2 separate regions of the Homo sapiens genome follow, and region 2 is linked to region 1. The links are contacts of gene promoters, found by promoter capture Hi-C in blood cells and fetal thymus (Javierre and others, 2016). All regions are on one chromosome and are shown on one strand. Each heading gives the region's core, a stretch centred on a gene start or on the middle of the fragment in contact. The rest is flanking DNA. Distances are from core to core; before and after follow the strand shown. Region 1 holds the start of RAB10 (RAB10, member RAS oncogene family). Region 2 has its middle 27 kb from the start of GAREM2.

What was found. Contacts are between HindIII fragments. The CHiCAGO score rates a contact against its expected background, and 5 or more counts as called.
Region 2: a fragment that was not itself captured here is called in contact with the fragment with the promoter of RAB10 in region 1 in 2 of 17 cell types (megakaryocytes and M2 macrophages); the score reaches 6.0 in megakaryocytes.

What each region holds. Positions count from the first base shown.
Region 1 is chr2:26,032,324-26,038,743 of GRCh38, forward strand. It overlaps RAB10 (RAB10, member RAS oncogene family), which reads left to right and starts at 1,761. Exons shown (of 6, transcript NM_016131.5): 1 at 1,761-2,412. The coding sequence starts at 2,286. It overlaps LOC124907743 (a long non-coding RNA gene), which reads right to left and starts at 1,426. Exons shown (of 2, transcript XR_007086249.1): 1 at 1,355-1,426; 2 at 88-338. RefSeq lists a silencer at 1,427-1,656 and an enhancer at 1,967-2,016. The HindIII fragment of the contact is 14,591 bases long and covers 1-6,420 here.
Region 2 is chr2:26,143,358-26,149,722 of GRCh38, forward strand. It overlaps the pseudogene SMARCE1P6. Among named protein-coding and RNA genes, the nearest start is that of GAREM2, 27 kb to the right of the region's middle. The HindIII fragment of the contact is 1,987 bases long and covers 2,540-4,526 here.

The sequences.
Region 1 (6,420 bases), core at 511-3,010:
AGTATCTTCGGTAAGGACGCTTTAGGGGTGGTTGAGAAGAAAGGAAAAATGTAAGACAGAAATATAAGACAGAAATGTAAGACGGAATTGCCTGAAAGTCTAACTTTAATTACATATCAAATACACATTTTGGTGATTTGGCGATCTTGGGGTGGTGTGTGTGAAAATGTAGTTTTTACTTCTCTATCCCTGTTTCTTGTTTTCCACATACTTCAGCGTTTTCCACTTTATCAGGTTGAACCAGCTCACCAGGTTCAACTCCTGTGCCATCACACCTAGGTGTGCTTTGAGGGATGGATGTCCCTGAGAATGGAAGGTCAGCAGCATGCATACTGCAACTACAGAAGGGTAGGAGAGAAAAAGGGTGGCGTAAACAGGACTGATGGGGAGAGAGAACAGAAGGTAAAGCAAATGCAAAGAAAATGCGAGGGCCCGGGCGCGGGGGCTAACGCCTGTAATCCCAGCACTTTGGGAGGCCGGGGCGGGCGGGTCACCTGTCAGGTGTTCGACACCAGCCTGACTAACAGGGTGAAACCCCGTCTCTACTAAATACAAAAAATTAGCCGGGCGTGGTAGCACATGCCTGTAATCCCAGCTACTTGGGAGGCCGAGGCAGGAGAATCACTTGAACCCAGGTGGTGGAGGTTGCAGTGAGCAGAGATTGTGCCATTGCACTCTAGCCTGGGCAACAAGAGCGAAACTCCATCTCAAAAAAAAAAAAAAAAAGAAAGAAAAGAAAAAAAGAAAAAGAAAATGCGAGGAAACGAGCGAAACTCCATCTCAAAAAAAAAAAAAAAAAAAAGAAAGAAAAGAAAAAAAGAAAAAGAAAATGCGAGGAAGCAGGCTGTGTCGGACTGGGAGTAGGCTTGACCACCTTTCAATTTTCAACCCAGTGGTACGACGCTGGCGGCAGGCAGAGGCCCCACCTCCTCTGCAGAGCGCTCTCGGGTTCTCCCGGATTCCTGAAGGACGGCAAAGGCCTGAAGCAGGTTCTCTGAGCACCGCACAGAACCCTCCACTTCGCAGGGAGGTTCTTCCTGCGCCCAGGTGTTCCTCAACCTTCCTCTCCTCGCCCAGGAAGAGGTTGTGAGGATTACCTCATCCCAACCCGAGCGGCGTGGCCAGCTTTTCCATCTCAAACTCTTGCTCTTGAAGTCAATCCGGATGGAGCGCTCATGTTTCCCCGTCAGGGCTGGCCCTGGAGAGGGGGCACGCCGGGAGGCGTCTCGTTCTAGCAAAGAGGCTATTAAATGACCCAGGGCGCGGCTTTTTCTCGCGTTTACGAGCTCCACCTACACGGGAACACATGGCCACCCAAGCCCGTCGCTGCGCCAAGACCTCCAGCTCAACACACCCGACAAGCGCTGTGCAGAGAAACCGCAGCGCAGTCCAGCGGGAGACCCCGGGAGGGGAAGGAGGTGCTGGGCTCTGTAAGGGTGTCCCGGGGAGCGGGGAGCGGGAGGCGGGAGGCGGGGGTCGGAGGGGGGGCGCTGCGCCTGCGCAGTCGCTAGGTAGCGTCTCCCCCGGGGCGTGCTCGTAACGCCGCGCACCCTATCAGGCGGCCACAGGGAGCGCGCCCGCGGCCTCGCCCTTTCTCGCCCCTCCCTTCTCCCCTCTGGGTCCAGCCTCAGACTGAGGCTTGGAGACAGGAGCATTCCACTCGCCACTTCGGCGCGCCCCCATGCCCTCTTGTGCGCGTGCGCAGAGGCGGACCGCAAGGCTAGGGCGTGAGGGAAGGGCGGGCGTACGCCCTTGCGTGCGTCTCAGGCAGCGCGCACGCCGGCGTGAGAGGGCACGGGGAAAAGGTGGCTCTGGCCGGGGTGGCTCGGTTTCCTGGGGCTATGTAACTGAGCTCGTCGACTTAGGGGTCCTTCTTCGCTGCCCTCGCCGCGTGCTAGCAGGGAGTTTCCGCTCGGGAGAGAGACTGTCCTCACGCCCGCTGCGCCTCCTCGACGGCAGAGCAGGCTTGCTCGCCCGTGGGAGCGTCCCGGCCGAGAAGCCCTGAGGGGGGAGGGGAGGCCATTTTGTCCCGACCGACTCCCCGGAACCGGGCGGACGGGCTGGGAGAGGCTGCGGAGCCGCGGTCGCCGCCCTCGGAGGCACTGGACGCCGCCACTGTCGGGGCTTCCTCAAAGCTGTTCGTAGGTCGCCCGCGCCGTCTCGAGCCTTTTTCCCACGCTTCCCCGGTCCTCCGGCCTGAGAACGCCCGAGTGAGGAGTTGGCCGTAGTGAGAGGGACCGATCCCTTGGGGCCGCCGGCGGCGAGAGCCCGAGCCGCTCCTCCCAATGGCGAAGAAGACGTACGACCTGCTTTTCAAGCTGCTCCTGATCGGGGATTCCGGAGTGGGGAAGACCTGCGTCCTTTTTCGTTTTTCGGATGATGCCTTCAATACTACCTTTATTTCCACCATAGGTAAGACCTGTGGGAGGACGGTGTACGGTCTCGGTAGCTGCATACCGTTTATTTTACTCCAGACATCTTGCTTCCCGTAATATACGCCTTTGTTTCAGTGATTCCGATTCCAAACGACACATCCAAGTTACTGTTTGAATCGGCATCGAGCTTACTGGGGCGGGGTCTTCCCATGATTTCCATCCGGTCTTTTGCTTTCGAGTCTCCCACTATGCTCAGTGCCTTCTGTTACAAAATATGCATCATTTAACCATGTTCCAGAACCTTATTTCTTCAGGCGACTGGACTGGCTTTTTCCACATTTGCGTGGAATTAGTAGATGTGTGATATTTTTAAGGTATTTATTTCAGTGGTTGCGATTGAAGCAGTACTAGCTATTTGGGAAAGGCCTGAATTTATACTTTGGGGCAAAGAAAAGATTCCATATGGTGATAACTTAGAGTAAACTTGAGGGTTTCTGAGAAGAATAATTAAGGTAAATTAGAAGGGAAGAGTGAGTTGCCCTCATTCACTAATCCATTGATGTGTCAAACAATCGGAGGCTCTTCGCGCTTGGGGTGGGACTCTGGCATATTTGCCTCAGTGCTTTTCGAGACATCAACAGAAGCAGTAATCTGAGGGAGATGATCAGTTTCTGTCCTCAAACCCAACGGAGTGAAGTCAAGCTCTCTCTTCTATTTTATTTGACTCTAGTATTTACAGGAAAGTATTTTGCCAGTCATAGCCCTATGGACTTATAATGCACTTTCACCATGTTTCAGAATTACTTAGTGTGGAAGTAAGAGCTAAAGAGTGACCTTTTTAATCGAATTTCCCGTTTAGGAAAGGAAAAGGGAAGGCTCTAGGAAAGTCCCTTTTGAATCTGGTTAGAAAATTTAAGTGGCATTGACGCTAATTGTGCTATATTAATTGTGAAACCCATCCGCTCCGCAATAAATTTCTTAAAAGACACATGGCTCTCAGCATTGTGGCGGTGCAGTTGAACCCATTTTTAAATGTACTTTTATATTGAGAGGCTTTTAAAAAGCAACGGCAGTCGTCTTTGAACTCTGGGAATTGTCAAAATTAAGCTGATTTGAAACAGTTTGTATAGCGTAACTGAAATATTTGGTTTGGGTTTTCTTTTGTGACAAATACCTGCTTCATTCTCACAAAAGAAATTATACTGAAATTAAATTGGACAAGTGATTTTTTAAATAGATTTTTATTTTGCTTACCTTTTTTGGGAGGCAAATTATCATAATCCTTATTTCCAGAGTATCATACTGTTTTCTTGGTCTGTCATAAATTTCATGAAACTTAGAGCTTGTTCTCTAACTTGTGGGTTAGAGAATACTAGCACTTAGCGCTAGCACTTCCCTAGCACTGTTTGCTTTTAACACTCCACTTTTAGCTGTAGCTGGCTAGGGTTAGGTGATCAGATGGGTCAGCAAATATTTATTGAGCACCTAATGCTGGGCACTGTTTTTAGGCACTGGGAATAAATGATGAACACAACAGACCCCTTGAGGAGCATTCCGGTGAGATAATCATAATAGTGTGGAAGATGCTACAATAGTAAGCACAGGGAGGAAGAGTGGCTAGTCTAAATCGTGAGGAGTTTGAGTAGGCTTACGTGGAGATGATACCTAAAATGAAGTCTGGGCCGGGCGCGGTGGCTCATGCCTGTAATCCCAGCACTTTGGGAGGCCTTGGCGGGCGGATCACAAGGTCGGGAGGTCAAGACCAGTTTGGCCAATATGGTGAAACCCCGTTTTTACTAAAAATACAAAAATTAGCTGGGCGTAGTGGCAGGCACCTGTAGTCCCAGCTACTCAGGAGGCTGAGGCAGGAGAATCACTTGAACCTGGGAGGCGGAGGTTGCAGTGAGCTGAGATTGTGCCACTGCACTCCAGCCTGGGCAACAAAGCCAGACTCCGTCTCAAAATAATAATAAATAAATGAAGTCTGAAGGACTAATAGGAATAGAGTCAGAGGGGTAGGATAGGGCCTTTCTGGAAAAGGGAGCATAGAACAAATGTATAGTAAGGTTGAGGATTTAATTCATGTGGTCAACTTTATTTATTTATTTTGAGACTGAGCCTCACTCTGTGGCCCAGGCTGGAGTGCAGTGGCGTGATCTCGGCCCACTGCAACCTCCGCCTCAGGGGTTCAAGCAATTCTGCCTCAGCTTCCTGAGTAGCAGAGACTACAGGTGCCCACCACCACACCTGGCTAATTTCTGTATTTTTAGTAGAGATGGTTTCACCATGTTGGTCAGGCTGGTCTTGACCTCAAGCAATCCACCGCCCCAGCCTCCCAAAGTGCTGGGATTACAGGCGTGAGCCACCACGCCTGGCTGTGTGGTCAACTTTAACCTATCCTTAGGAACAGTGTGGAGTAGGAAGCAAAACATTAACTCTGTCTACTCCAATCTTTTTGTAAAGGGTGCATGCCCCCAACTAAAACTCAATCCTGTAAGATAATGGTATAATCTTTTTGTAGCCCTTTTACTTGGGAAGATGTGTGATGATTTTGGATCAAGTCTGCTGGGTTGGAATCTTGTTTCCACAGGTTACTAGCTGTGCAACTTTGGCAGATTACTTAACCTCTGTCGGCTTCAGGCTCTTTAAGAGTGTTAAGGCTGGGCACGGTGGCTCACTCCTGTAATCCCAGCTCTTTGGGAGGCCGAGGCAGGCGGATCACCTGAGGTCGGAAGTTCGAGACCAGCCTGATCAACATGGAGAAACCCTGTCTCTACTAAAAATACAAAAATTATCTGGGCGTGGTGGCGCATGCTTGTAATCCCAGTTACTCAGGAGGCTGAGGCAGGAGAATCGCTTGAACCCGGGAGACAGAGGTTGTGGTGAGCCGAGATCGTGCCATTGCACTCCAGCCTGGGCAACAAGAGTGAAACTCTGTCTCAAAAAAAAAAAAAAGTGTCAATCATAATATCTACCACATAGGGTAGTTGTGAGGATTTTAGGGGTTAGTGAGAGTAAAGCACTTCACATGGTGCCAGGACCAGGCACTTTGTAGGAGCACAGTGCATATTAGCTATATATAGAATATGTGACTCTTCTGCTGTGGAGGTGTGGCAGAACATGTTATTTTATGGATTGAACATCCTGCACACCGTGGTACCCAAGTATTTGTTGGTGCTCCACTAAACAATTTCTTTTTTTTTTTGAGACGGAGTTTCGTTCTTTTTGCCCAGGCTGGAGTGCAATGGTGTGATCTCGGCTCACTGCAACCTCCGCCTCCCAGGCTTAGGTGATTCTTCTGCCTCAGCCTCCCAAGTAGCTGGGATTACAGGCATATGCCACCACACCTGGCTAATTTTGTATTTTTAATAGAGACGGGGTTTCACCATGTTGGCCAGGCTGGTCTCGAACTTCTGACCTCAGGTGATCTGCCCGCCTCAGCGTCTCAAAGTGCTGGGATTACAGGCGGAAGCCACCACACTGCCCTCCTTTGTTTGTTTGTTTTTTTTTTTTTTGAGATGGATTTTCGCTTTTGTTGCTCAGGCTGGAGTGTAGTGGCACAATCTCTGTTCACTGCAACCTCTGCCTCCCAGGTTCAAGCGATTCTCCTGCCTCAGCCTCCTGAGTAGCTGGGATTACAGGTGCGCACCACCACGCCTGGCCAATTTAGTATTTTTAGTAGAGGTGGTGTTTCATCATGTTGGTCAGGCTGCTCTTGAACTCCTGACCTCAGGTGATCCACCTGCCTCAGCCTCCCAAACTGCTGGGATTACAGGCATGAGCCACTGCGCCCAGCCTAGACTCTGACATTTTCATACTTTCAGGTAAAAATGTTTTCACATATAAGATGTTGAATAGTGTAAGTTGAGAAAATAAATGATTCTGAGTACAGCTTGAACACATACATGTATTAGCTCTGTGCACAGGTTTAAAATACCATTGGGCGGGGCGCGATGGCTCACGCCTATAATCCCAGCGCTTTGGGAGGCTGAGGTGGGTGGATCACGAGGTCAGGAGATCGAGACCATCCTGCCAAACATGGTGA
Region 2 (6,365 bases), core at 2,283-4,782, 110 kb after region 1:
TCTTGTTCACAGTCTGGATGGTTATTGGTTGGTGAAGCCCAAAATACATGCCCCTGCCCCAGGTGCCAGGGAAGTGGGGAAAAGGGAGAATCTCTTGTTTTCAGCTTCAATAGTGGGAGGTGGCCTCTGACTCTAAGATGGGGGATTTAGGTAACTGGATGGGCAAAAAGAGTGACAAATATCTACTATGCCAGTGGTGTGCAAACTTTACTGCACATTAGGGGAGTGCTTTTAGAAATACAAGCACTGGCTCTGTGCAGTGGTTCATGCCTGGAGTCCCAGCACTTTGGGAAGCCGAGATGGGAGGACTGCTTGAGGCCAGGGGTTCAAGACCAGCCTGAGGGTATAGTGAGACACTTTCTTTACACAATAAGCAAACAAACTAATGCCAAGGTTGCACCCCAGAATTCCTGAGATGATAGTGGCTTTTTGTTCGTTTTTAACTTCCTATGTGATTCCCATGTGCAGCCAAGTTCATGAACCAGTTCCCATACCCTTGCTACTCAAAGTGTGTTCTTCAGATCACCTGCATGGGAATCACCTGGGAGCTTCTGAGAACTGCAGCTGCTCTGCACAATTCACATCTATGATTACACAAAAGCCCCAGAGGAGTCTCACACAAATTACAATTTGAGAAAGGTGGCCCTATGCTATTTTCCCAAGGCCAGCCCGAATCCCACCAGCAGGTATATTCCCCACTTCTGAGCAGAGCAGTTGCCTTTCTCTTCTAAATCCCGAGAAGAATACATTTGGCCTGCTTTTCCGTTGGGCATTTATTGCCTACTTCCTTGTTTGTGGTTAACTGGCTTATCTCTTTAATGGATTGTGAGCGAGTGGTGGGCAGGGACTCTAGTCCTTTTTGTGTTTTCACAAATCTTATTGCATTGCTGTCCACGCAGCAGGTGCTCAGAACATGCAGTGAGTGAACCGGTGACGTTCCTTCAGCTTCCCTCTCCCATCACATTCAAGCAGGGGATGCAGCGGCCTCCTTTTCCCCACCCCCACTTCCATACATTCACAGTCCCATCTTGATTCAAAGGCAACTTCAATTATAACTTTTAGTCTGGGCACAGTGGCTCACGCCTGTAATCCCAGCACTTGGGAGGCCGAGTCTGGTGGATCACTTGAGGTCAGGAGTTTGAGACAAGCCTGGCCAACATGGTGAAACCCTGCATCTACTAAAAATATAAAAATTAGCCTGGTGTGGTGGCACGTGCCTGTAATCCCAGCTACTTGGGAGGCTGAGGCAGGAGAATCACTTGAACCTGAGATAGGTATTAGTAAGCCGAGATCATGCCACTGCACTCCAGCCTGGGCAACAGAGCAAGACTGTCTCAAAAAAAAAAAAAGAAAGAAAGAAAAAGAAAAAAGGCGGGGCCTGGTGGCTCATGCCTGTAATCTCAGCACTTTGGGAAGCTGAGGTGGGAGGATCACAATGTCAGGAGTTTGAGACCAGCCTGACCAACATGGTGAAACCCCGTCTCTACTAAAAATACAAAAATTAGCCAGGCATGGGAACGCATGCCTGTAATCCCAGCTACTCAGGAGGCTGAGGCAGGAGAATCACTTGATCCTGGGAAGCGGAGGTTGCAGTGAGCCGAGATCACACCACTGCACTCCAGCCTAGGCAACAGAGTGAGACTCCGCCTCAAAAAAAAAAAAAAAAATTTAAAGTTCAAATTTATTCTTACTACTTCCGGGTATTGGATACATTAGTTGACTCCTGTGAATCATTTCCTTGTCTCTAAAGGAGATGGACTCGAAAGCTCTCCAACAGTTCAATGGAAATATTCTACAATTCTGTAGTCCACCTTGCTGGATTAGCCAGGACTCCAATACCCCAACTCTTGTGGGGTTGGCAGTGGGGCTTGCATGGAGAAACTATAAATTAAACGTAGGGTCGCTCCGCCACCGTGTGACCAATGCTGGAAACTGCATTTCTTCAGTGTGCCATGAGAGATTTCTCAAAAGCCCATCAAGATTTTAGGGTAATATATAGCCACACAAAATTAAATGATCTCTCCCTACCCCCACCAGCATGGCAGACACGGAATTTTAAAAGTATAAACCTACAAAGATAAAAATTAGGGAGCAAGAGACATCAGCAAGTGAGAATTAAAATTTTTATGTATGTAAATATTAGTCTTTAAAAAATGGAAGATGGAAAACAGAGCTAACTGACGTGGAGCATAAGTTACAACCTCATTGTTTTCAAAGGGGGATGTCGATAAGAAGTGGGTATATTTTCTCTGATGGGATCCCAAGAGTTCCAGGATTTATAGGTACCAGTTACCATGGACAACTGAGGCATATGGCAATGGGCTAAAAATGGAGCAAGGAAATAACGGATCCCAAGTGTCCCTTCCCACCCCTCACAGCCAGGAGTTGCTGTCACCCCTCTTCAAGCCTTATTATTTGCAGAAATGAAACTATAGAGGCTTCAGATGTGAGGCCACCAGGCCCAGAGAGAGGTGGAGGTGAGTCATAGTATCAAAAACAAGGAATGAAGTGGACGCCTGTCTTGAATAATGGGCTCCTAAGCTTCTTTCCTTCATTCTTCCTTCCCTTTCCCAGAATTTTAGCAGCCAAATACATGTACTCAGGCAGAAGATTAGGAAGTCCTTCTGTCACATGGAAGTTCACCAACAAAAAGGCCCCTTATAGCAGATTCCTCCAGTTCTGAGGACATATAAACACATACAAAGTTTCCAATCTACCAAAACCGTATATACGAAATCAGTCAACATAAAGAAAAGTATAGGAAAATTAATAACAATCTACAGAAAAAAATAGCCGGGCATGGTTGCACACACCTATAATCCCAGCCACTCAGGAAACTGAGGTAGGAGAATTGCTTGAACCCAGGAGGTGGAGGTTGCAGTGAGCTGAGATTGTGCCACTGCACTCCAGCCTGGCAACAGAGCAACAACGTCTCAAAAAATAATAATAATAAAAATAAATAAAATAAATAAAAATAACAATCCACATACCTGACACCCAGATTGAGTCAGATATTCAGTTCTTCATGTTGACATAAAAGAGACAGTAAAACAACTAACAAACATAAAAAGGAGACTTCAGGGGAAAAAAGGTAAGGAAAACCAAAGAAAAACCCCAAACTCACTTTAAGCAATATTTTTGAATGACATGGGATCCATAAATTAAGAATAGGATGCTATAAAAAAGAACAAATAATGAAAAAATGATCTCTAAAATAAAAACTATCCACTGAAATAAAATGATTCAAGAGAAGAATAGGCCAGGCACAGTGGCTCCTGCCTGTAATCCCAGCACTTTGGGAGGCCCAGGCAGGCAGATCACTTGAGGACAGGAGTTTGAGACCAGCCTGGCCAACATAGTGAAACCCCGTCTCTACTAAAAATACAAAAATTAGCTGGATGTCGTAGCACATATTTATAGTCCCAGCTACTCGGGAGGCTACTCTGGAGGCTGAGGCAGAAGAATCACTTGAATCCAGGAGGCGGAGGTTGCAGTGAGCTGAGATCAAGCCACTGCACTCCAGCCTGGGCAACAGAGCAAGACTCTGTCTCATTAAAAAAAAAAAAAAAAAAAAAAGTGGGGGAAATAAATTTCTGTTCTTTATAAATTAGCCAGTCTATAGTATTCTGTTATAGCAGCACAAAACAGACTAAGACATAAAGTAATTATCAGAGAGAAAATACAAAAATAGAAAAGGAACTTACTTGTCAAATGTAAAGGCAAAATAAATGACATATTCAGATATGCAAACAGGTAAATGTTTTTTTCCCTTGCTGTCCTTCTCAGGAATCTACTCTAGGAAAAGGAAAGAGTACACCAAGGAAAAGAAAAGCCGGAGACTCAGAAAACAGGGACTCAAGTGTGGGCCAGTCCTGGAGGGGCTATGTAGTTGGACTTGGAAGCAACCTACCCAGAGGGGAGCAGGAAGACAGTCTCCAGGAAAACCAGTGGAAGAAATAATATTGATAGGTGGGTGATATAGCTGAGGGACAGTGCAAAATCATGAGGATAAAAAACAAAACCTTTCTCTCTGCTGGGAGCAGCTCTCTGAGAGCTAGGATAAAATCTGTCCTGCCTCACACAGGATCCCCAGTGCCTGACTATTCCTGGCACATAGTAGGTGCCCAAGAAATATTGTTAAATGAGGCCAGGCATAGTGGCTCACACCTGTAATTCCAGCCCTTTTGGAGGCCAAAGCAGAAGGATCTCTTGAGCCCCTGAGTTTGAGACCAGCCTAGGCAACATAGGGAGAGTCCATCTTTACAAAAAATAAAAAATTAGCTGGGTGTGGTGCTATGTGCCTGTGGTCCTAACTTGAGGTGCTAAGGTGGGAGGATCACTTAAGTCTGGAGGTCGAGACTGCAGTGAGCCATGATCACACAAGTGCACTCCAGCCTGAGCAACAGAGTGCAGACCCTATCTCAAAATATATATGTGTGTGTGTGTGTGTGTGTGTGTGTATATATATATATATATATGCATAGTTAGATGAGTGAATGAATGAATGCATGAAGGAGAGCAGATCAAGCTTCCCATTTGTGCTTTAAGCCGGGTGCTAAAGTAGACCAGCTAACCTGAGCACCTGAGCGCCCCTCCTCCACTACAGATACCTTAGAAATACAACATCAGTATAATTTTGAATGCATAATCAAGTCCTCAAGAAAGCAAAGATAATCTGAAGGAGAAACAGGTCACTTACAAATCATTTTTGTTTTGTTTTTATTGTTGACATATAAAAAACCATACATATATGTACACATCTTTATGTATACAGACCCTAATAGATCTGCCTTGCCCACAGGCTTTTTTTTTTTTTGAGACGGAGTCTCACTCTGACGCCTCGGCTGGAATGCAGTGGCGTGATCTCAGCTCATTTCAACCTCCACCTCCCAGGTTCAAGGGATTCTCCTGCCTCAGCCTCCTGAGTAGCTGGGATTACAGGCACATACCACCATGTCCGGCTAATTTTTGTATTTTTTGGTAGAGATGGGGTTTCACCATGTTGGCCAGGCTGGTCTCAAACTCCTGAGCTCAGGTGATCCGCCTGCCTCGGCTTCCCAAAGTGCTGGGATTACAGACACCTCTTTGTGGTCTCTGCTCAAATGTCCCCTTGTCATTGAGACCTTCCCTGGCCACATTGCATAGGACAGGAACAACACCTCTCCCAGTCCTGAATTCGCTATCCTTTTCACTTGGCTTTCTTTTTTCCTCCACAGCTCTTTCCACCACCTGACATATTAACATTTACTGTTCATTTGTTTATTGCCTGTCTCTGCTAGGATAGAAGCTCCAAGTGGGCAGGGGCTCTTTCTGTCTTATTCATGGCTCTGTCTTCAGCACCTAGAACAGCACCCACTGCATGAACGATGCTATTTGTTGAATGAATAAACCTGATCTCTTGTGCCCCTACTTCCTACTGGGAAATCTACAGTGAAGAGAGGAGAATAAAACTAACATTTTTGCAGCATTTTCTTAGGGTCATGGAGGGATTCCTAGTGTCCCAAAGGTGCTTGTCTGAGTCCTGAAAGTGAAGGGGCTATTTGTAGTAAACAAACAAACAAACAAACAAAAAACCCACTTTAGGACATAATATAGGAAGTGGGCTGGGCTCAGTGGCTGGTGCCTGTAATTCAGCACGTTGGGAGGCTGAAGTGGGAGGATCACTTGAGCCCAGGAATTCGAGACCAGCTGAGGCAACAGTGAAGTCCCATTTCTACAAAAAATTAAAAAATTGGAGGGGTGGGCATGCATGGGATAAAGGGAAGTGAAGCCAGGGCTTGGGGCACTTTTTCTGCCCATGAAGTCTCAGATTCATTCTTAAGGAACTGAGAACTTAATCTTCCAAAATGTCAAAAAGACCATCTTATGCCCCAACTCCCACCCCAGCTCCTGCAACACAAATGTCCAGTACACCAGGGTTTGTGGGATACAATCCTTACAGTCATCTCACCTACAACAACTACAGGCTGGGAGGCAACCCAGGCACCAATAGCCGGGTCCCAGCGTCCTTTGGTATTATGATTCCAAAACCCCCAAAGCCACCAGATAAGCCGCTGATGTGCTACATGAGGTACAGCAGAAAGGTCTGGGACCAAGTAAAGGCTTCCAACCCTGACCTAAAGTTGTGGGAGATTGGCAAGCTTATTGATGGCATGTGGGGAGATCTCACTGATGAAGAGAAACAAGAATAAACAAATACAAAGTAGAAAAGATAGAGTACAATGAATCTATGAAGACCTCTAATTCCACACGAACCTTGCTTACATAAATGCTGCAAAAAGTCATGCAGAAGCTGCTTTAGAGGAAGAAAGTGGACAGAGGCAGTCTCGCATGAAGAGAGGAGAACCTGACGTGAGCATTCAGCT